Regions from separate parts of the Homo sapiens genome. Here region 2 is linked to region 1. Evidence: promoter capture Hi-C in human tissues and cell types (Jung and others, 2019). All regions are on one chromosome and are shown on one strand. The core of a region is centred on a gene start or on the middle of the fragment in contact, and the rest is flanking DNA. Distances in the headings are between cores, read along the strand shown.

Region 1 (3,881 bases), core at 372-2,871:
AAGGCCCCCATGACCTGCGTGCGGAGAAACCCCACCTCTATCACTACAGTCAGGTTTCTGCCTGCAGGGTCCCCACCTCGATCAGTGAGTCTCCCTTAGCTCCTCACAAAGCCCCAGCTTCTCTAAGACCCTTTCTCTGACTCCCACTCCCCTCCCTGAGATCCCATGACCACCCCAGGTGCTGCCCCTAGAGCCAAGCCTCCATCCTCGCATTAAGCCTCCAGCCTGTCACTGACCCCCATTCCCCCAACAAGTCCCTGAGCTCCAGCCTGTCACATCCCAGTCCCTGCCTGTGTCCGTGACCACACTGCCCCACTCTCTCAGCGCTCTGTGTATTCAGGCCCTGGGCACCAGCTGGAGGCTGTGCTATTTGAGGAGGTGCCCAGGAGTAGCGGATGTGGGGCCAGGCGGGGCCAGGCGGGGCCAGGGAGGGCACTGGCTGCTGTCCAAGGTGCTGACCAGAATCAGGCCCCGGCTGAGTCTCACCACTCCCTCCAGCGGGGGCCTAGCTTGTCCCCTGGAGAACTGCTGGGCCGTACTACGGCTCAGCTAGCACCTTTACCCTTCCTATCCCGCTTCAGCCTGGCTCAGGGGCTTCCCAAGGACTCCATGGATACAGACATAGGACCCAAATTAAAGGGAGGAAGCAGGGAACATGTCCAGGCAACTCTTGGGCTGACGGGGCCAAGAGGTGGCTGATGTGGCCCTTTTGCCCACCCTTGATCCTCCCCTAAATCTTCATCCCCAGCCCTGTAGCCATCTCCCCTGGGCCCCCCAGCAGCCGACGGTCTCCTCGTACAGATGGAGGGGTCATGGGCCAGATAGGGGCAGGGACCTGTCAAGGTCACATGGCAGACCTGGGACAGACTTCTGCCTGCCTCCCTTCAGGATTGGGTTTCTCAGTGACCCCCCTCTGGAATCTGGGGTAAGAGAAGACCACCACTGCCCCTGCCCACAGCAGAGGCTGCCAGCCTGATGGCTGTGCTGTCGGCCTGAGGGTGGAGGCACCTCCTCATCAGTTGGGTGGGGGTGGAGAGGCCCTGGGGATCAGGTTAATGGAGCAGGAGCTTGAAACCGGAGCATGGTGAAGAGCCCGTGAAATAGCTTTGTCAGCTGCCTCCCACTCGCCACTTTCCAATTTTAGCTCCCCATGGCCGGTGCGGGGTGTCCCCAGTGAGGCCTCTGCAAGGAGCTGGCCCCCAGCCTGGGGCCTCTCCTGATAGACCCCCAGACCAGGGCTGGCCTGTGGACACGGGGGCATACCCTTTCCCCTGGTCCTGCCTGCCCCAGATGCCCCGGGGGTAAAGCCCCTTTTGGGGCCTGTGATTTGGGATGAGGGCCTGGGGTGTGCCCCACAAGTCTCAAGAGCCCCAGAGTAGCTGCATCCCCAGCTGGCACTGACCTTGAGGAGGCCGCAAGGGACCCTGGCACACTGCCCACCTCAGGCTCTGGGGTCCGGCTTCCAACTGTCCGTCCGTGCGACCGGCTGAGCTCTGGGGCCACGGTGGGGTGTGTCCAGCCCTGGGGTCCCCACCCCCTTGAGGTTATGAGCGGTGAGTGGTGACAGCGGGAGGAGGAGGGGGAGGAGGAGGTGGCCTTCCTGGAGCGGAGCTGAGCAGAGTGGAGCAGAGCCGAGTGCTGCAGAGCTGCTGGCCACAGGGAGCCGCAGGGAGGATCCTTGAAGGGGGGCGGGTGCTGGGTGGGGGGAGGGTGTCCAGTAGCATAGGCTCAGACAGGGACACCTGGGCCTCTCTTCAGCCTGCCTCCCCTGGCTCCTAGAGAGCCTGTGCCTCTCTCTCACTGCTACCCAGGACTTCCCTCTTCCAGGAAGACTCCTGGTGGTCCCACCAGCCTCTCCAGGCTTGTAAGCCCTGCCCCCACCACAGACACACACAGTCACAACATGCAAACACTTTCATGCTTGGGCTCCAGGGACTCCAGCTCCTACCTTTACATATGACCTCCTAAGGGCTATCCCAGGGCAGACTTGTCTCGCCCCATGACCTGGTCCTTTTCATTATGCCGTGAGTCCTGGCTGGCCATGCATCAGTGCCTGAGGGAGGGCTGACTTGCCTGATGGGACTGGAACTGGCATGGGACATGTGGCTGAGAGGGATCCCCATAAGTCAGCCCTGTCCCATAGGGAGTGTCCTGGATGGAGGGGTGCTAGCAGGGTCACTTGGCAAGGCTTGTGGGTACTTGGAATGGCTGGTATCCTCTCGGTGGCAGAGTGGAGGCAGACAGGAAGACAGGTGTGTTCCTAACCAACTGGGAGTCCTGGTAGGACAGGGCCCTCATTCTGGAAGGGAGCATCCAAGGCCTCAGCCCTGGATACCTGAGGGGAGGGGCATCCTGAAGGTGCCCCTGAGATTAAGAACCTCTGACAGTGCCCCTTCGGTTGAGGCCAAGTCTCGGGCAGCTGTATGTGTCTGTGCTATCTAGGGGGACCTGTTCACCTGTGTGCTTGTGGGGAGGCTCTCGGGGGTAGAAGGAGCTTTGTGGCTGTGATCAGTCACAGGACAGCTCCTGGAGCCCCTGCTGATCCTATGACCCCAGCTTCAGGCTCAGTTGAGGAGGCAGGAGGGAGGTGCTGCTCCCCACCCATCAGGGCCCAGGAAGGGGAGAGACTGCACTTAGGCAGGGAGCTGCCTCCCGAGCACATAGACACGCTGGCCTGGAGAACAGCAAGGAGACGCCCAACCTACACACTCCACACAGGACACAGAGGCCCGTGTCTGTGGTCCCCGACCCTGAGAAGCATGAATGGTGACTACTGCACAGTGTGGGTGCTGGGTTAGAGCTGTGGTGGGTAATGGGCACTAGAGAGGCCAGCATCAGGAAGGGAAGGATACCTGAGCCAGACTTCAGGGTTAAGGAGGGCTTCCTCAGGGAGGGGTAGTCAAAGGTTGTTAGGAGTAAGTTAATCATAGTAGCCAGGATGTACATGGATTAACTTTTTAATGTCACCACAGCCCATAGGGAAGATGTTGCCACTGTACGCAGTTGGGAGAAGAAGGACCTGGCACATGAGGAAGCCAAGTAGTTGGATCAGCCCTGTAAGCTCCTGGCACTGACTGCCCTGCAGGGGCGACAACCCCGTGCACCCACACTGGGGCCCTCACGAGGCTCCAAGAAAATGGCTCAAGGGAGCAGACAGGGTGGTTTGACCCCAGAGTTAAGAACACAGGTTCAGCCAATTTACTTGACCCTGAGCTGGTGTGACCCACTTCTTAGGGCCTCAGATCCTCAGTTGTAAAATGGGCATACCGCTGGCCCTGGCCCTCACTGGGGTGGCAGGGGGCATCCGGTGATTCACTCCATGACAAGAGCCTTGCTCATAAACAGAGGCTATTAGAGAGCCACAGACACCCTGACCCCCAGAGGCCCAGAAAGGCTGGATTCACACTCAGAAGTGAGGCCTTCCCTGGGTGACCCACACACAGCAGGGTCTGCAGGGAGTGTGGTGTGCGGAAATGGCAAGAGGGGTGGAGGGCTAGGGAAGTCCCATGGATCTGTGGTTGGACAGCCTGAGGCCAGCTCCACTGTGTCTGAGGGGGGTGGCAGGGGAGGGCACCTGGCAAGGCCAGCCCACGTGAGGGACAGGAAGCTGACTGAGCTAAGACCAGCACTTGGCCCTGGGGCCAGCTTCCCAAATGCCACAAGGGCCACTAGGAAAGATATGGTGGGGAGTGGGGACAATTCTCTCAAATCTGAGTCCCTTTTCAATTTTCAGACTTTTTTTGTTTGGTTGTTGCTCAAAGTAAAAATGCGAGGAAAGTATCCTGTGTGTTTGCATGTACGTGTGCAACTGTGTTTTGTATCAGTTGTGTGTGGGTCTGTGTGTACGTTTTGTGTTGTAGGTTGTTCATGGCATGTGTTTG
Region 2 (3,881 bases), core at 512-3,011, 77 kb before region 1:
GAAGAAATTCAAAGATTTGGGACTAAAGTTACCAAGTTAATTTGGTATTTATTTTGTCCTTTGTATTCTTATTTTTTAGGTTAAAGAATAGGAAGAAACCACAATAAAAGCTGGAATTATAAAGTCATAGAGTGGAAAGGGATTTAGAGATTATCTAGTCCAACCTTTTCATTCTGTAGATTATGCTAAATTCTTGAAAAGTCATGTAAAGTCCAGGTTATAGAAATTTTATTTACAATCTGGAAGAAACTGATAGCTAGAAAAAGAATGCTGCATACTTATTCATATTATTAATGCCTTTACTATAAATTTAAGCTTATTTAAGCTCAAAATTTTATTAACCACTCTGCTCTGAATTTATTTTAGTTAAGGATTAGAAGCATCAAACATTTTGCTGGAAAACAAAATGACATTTGGGGAAACATTCTTTCCCCTTTTGCTGTTACTGATAGCTTATTAATTCTGGCTGTAATTTTTTTGTCTTTATATACATTAATCAAAAAGACAAAGATGTTGTATAAAATAGTCATGAAAAAGATTGAGTAAATAGTTTATAGCTTTGTAGTAACTTCTGGGATAGGACACTAATATAGCTGTCAGGAAACCTTGATTTTAGTTTCCTATGTACCTTCAGTTCGTTTTTCTTAAACATTGGTATAAAAATATGGATGTAAAAGGAAGAAGGTATTTTGTAGGGTAGTTGTAAGTTCCTGAATGTGTGGAATGATTTATGTGCAAACATTGTCTTGCCTAATGGAAATAGTCATAATTGCCTAGTTTTCATTAGTCTGAAAAATGTCTTAAAGAAGTATTGGGCTCATCTTAAATCAAGAGCAACAGAAGTCTCTTCATCAGCTGCTGTTAGAACATGAGTCTGCGCAGCCATAGAGTAGGGATCTGCAGACCCTGCAAGAACAGTTCCTGTCACTGGCCACTGTCAGTGGTCATTAATAATTATAACAATGTAAGAAAACAAGATAATATAGAAGAGTCAAACTTTGAACTTTAAACAAAACATGTTTGCTACATTTTAACAGTCATAAATAGGGCAATGGGGGGGCGGGGCATAAGTTTTAGAATATGTTTTATGTCATTTAAGAATCTGACTTGCAAGTACCTGAATGGGAGAGAAGTGCTGATTATTACAAAGTAGTGGAGCAAGGAGAGTTGAGGAGTAGTTGGTTTTAAGGGGTTTGTAAAGCTGTGTTGATGTTTTGGGTAATAAAACTAGATTCGGGGTAGAAATGCTTTTTCTACCCACGTATTCATAAATTTATGTAAGAAGAAATGCTAGTAAGTGTTAATAACCTGAGAAGCTCTAGCTTTTTCCTTCCTTTTTTTGGGGTAATACCTTCATATGTTAATTTCAGATTTTTTCATGAGCAAAGATGTTCGTGAAACTTAGCCATAAACCATATTCTCTGAATATCAAGTGTCATCCCTAACATTCAGGCTTAATAACTTAATGTTTATGTGACTTACGTGCTAGCAATGTGGAAGAAATTTTTTATCTAGTAATGTTTGGTGTGTATTATCTTAACATTAGTGCTGAATTTTAGAAAGCACTTCTATTTTGGTGACTTTTGGAACACATGGGTAGAGCATTGTCAAGTGGCTTGGTTAGTTTCCATTACCCTTATACAAGTGTTGTCATTCTGTACAATTTGGTGCCTCTTCCCTGACAGTGTGATAGTTTCAGGAGTTGAAGGGAAAGCATTGCATGTTAAAAGCTAAAGTGGACAGAAGTTATCTTTATTTCCCTCTTCTGTACTACTTTACACCTACAGTCACTTATTTTTTTTTTTTGCAACATTCATTGAAAACTCCACATTATTTCAAACATTATGTTCTTTTTTGACTTATTCATGTTGTCAATGCCTTTATGATAATTTTAAGCTTATTTTTAAATATTTCAAGATTTATTACATTCAAAACTCTTATAAAGCATTTTGTTCATGGTATAATAGTATTTTGATCTGAGTAGTAATAGATTTATTTGTTTAAATATAGATAAAAATTGGTCAGTGTGTGTTCTCCAAAAAAAAATCTTGATAATGGGGAAAATCAGAGATTAGACAGGAAAAGAAGATATTGTGGCTAAGATTTGACTGCACTTACGCTTTCATCTCTCTTGCCTTTTTATTCTCTGAGAAGGTCCCTAAAATTGTAGTTAATGCTGCTTTATTATTATGTTCAGTGACTTAACTTCAATGTGTATCTAATATCACTGAACAGTAACTAGGGTCCGAACATTTGCTCATTAACTCCTGAAAGTAGTCTGTTGTGATACGTCACCAAACAAAGGTTTCAAATGTAGAAGCATGAAAGGTTCTTTAATTATTTGATGTGAATTAGTTAAAAGTTCCTTGAAATTTTATTTTGGATGATCTTAACTCACTTTTTTCTAATGAAATTTTTGCTTTCAACTGGTAGTAACTGGTCCTGGGCATTCAGATTTTTATATTTATGTATGTATGCAAGATACACTATTCTCTTTTGAGAAAATGTTGTCTTAGCTAATTTCTGGGATTTGTGAAAGGAAATGTAATATGTTAATAGCTATTATTGGCACTCTATGTTACAATATTAAGGATCTAAATAGATTCCCACTTAGCCACGATGCTTTTCTTAAGCATAATTCATCTCTACGTAAATATCCCATATGAAAGAAAATTTAGAGCCCTCCATTTAAAAAAGCTTTCTTGCTCTGCATAAAACTTGAAAATAATTAATTTCAAAGTTATATTGATATTAAAACATAGATTCAGTCTTGTCTTAAAAGTGTATTACAATTTATTTCTTGCCATTTTTGTGTAAAATTTACAGAAAGAGTGTTACACCGTGCGCTCCAAAGGTAATGTCTCATTACTCTAAGGCTCTCTCTCTCTTTGCCTTTATCTCTTTAATTCTGTTGTTATGTGCATTGAAACATTTTAAGAAAAAAAAAAACTTTCTGCTTTATCTGTATAGCAGCAGTACATGTAAAACAAGTGCATTTTATTTTTCATGGTTAATCCTGGGAACTATATTTTAACTTCAGTGGCTTGTTTCCACCAAGTTCCTGTACATCTTCTGGTGGGGGAGTGGGGTTATTAGTTTATAGTATGGTTTTAGTTCTCATTTCAGTGTGGAATTAGTCATTTCTGTATAAGGGCAAAAGGTTCTCTGATAATGGTATAAAACTATAGATTGTTTTTGGAGTAGCAGTGACACTTGTCAATTTCTAAGATTTATAAGGCTTAAATACCTTGCACACATGTTTTTTAAAGTAGATTCAGGGGTCGGGAAAACTGAAAAATCACTGTCTTTAAGTACAAGAGAAAAATGGAAATGCATAAATATTGAAAGGTTTTACAATTTGAAATGTTCTTTGTGGTTTTTTCTTTTTTAGGTATGTTTTCATAAGCATATATAAATTTAAACATTTTTGATAGCCTCTGGCCTTAACTTACTGAGCATGTGTCACCATTGCACAGCTCTTTAAACAGCCGCTTTTAAGATCAATGCAATTTTTCTTTTAATTGAAGATTTTGAAAGATTAAGAGTTAGTGAGATGAGCTCTCTGCCTCTTTTAGTAGAATTGAATAGTCTGGATTGTGGATATTATTTCTCTCCGCCCTTTTGTAACCCTCTTTGGCTAATGTCCTCTGTTCATCCACGTATTAGCCAAGTGCCAGTAACCCTGCTTTACATTGGGATTTCTACTCCTGGAATGTAGGTTGAGAACCCCAGAGGGCTTCTTTTTGTTAAATACTTTTAGTATTCTTAATATGTAATCTAATCCAATTAAAGTGCAGACTTATATTTCTGTATCTTGAGTTGCAGATGCAAGTAATGGACTTTAATCATTCATATCAGGTTTAGGCACTATGGGCAGGCTG

What was found. The method cuts DNA at HindIII sites, captures the fragments that hold promoters and counts their contacts. A contact is called where the count stands out against the background at its distance.
Region 2: a contact is called between a fragment that was not itself captured here and the fragment with the promoter of HHATL in region 1, in 5 of the 25 tissues and cell types used here (bladder, heart right ventricle, neural progenitor cells and 2 more).

The regions. Positions count from the first base shown.
Region 1 is chr3:42,701,177-42,705,057 of GRCh38, forward strand. HHATL (hedgehog acyltransferase like) reads right to left here and starts at 1,622. Exons shown (of 12, transcript NM_020707.4): 1 at 1,403-1,622. It overlaps HHATL-AS1 (HHATL antisense RNA 1), which reads left to right and starts at 1,365. Exons shown (of 3, transcript NR_146957.1): 1 at 1,365-1,553; 2 at 2,973-3,056. It also overlaps a transcript of CCDC13 not described here. RefSeq lists a silencer at 338-407. The HindIII fragment of the contact is 15,374 bases long and covers 1-3,881 here.
Region 2 is chr3:42,624,374-42,628,254 of GRCh38, forward strand. The region is part of intron 6 of NKTR (natural killer cell triggering receptor); the gene reads left to right. The region is part of intron 1 of ZBTB47-AS1 (ZBTB47 and NKTR antisense RNA 1); the gene reads right to left. Among named protein-coding and RNA genes, the nearest start is that of NKTR, 26 kb to the left of the region's middle. The HindIII fragment of the contact is 4,741 bases long and covers 1-3,881 here.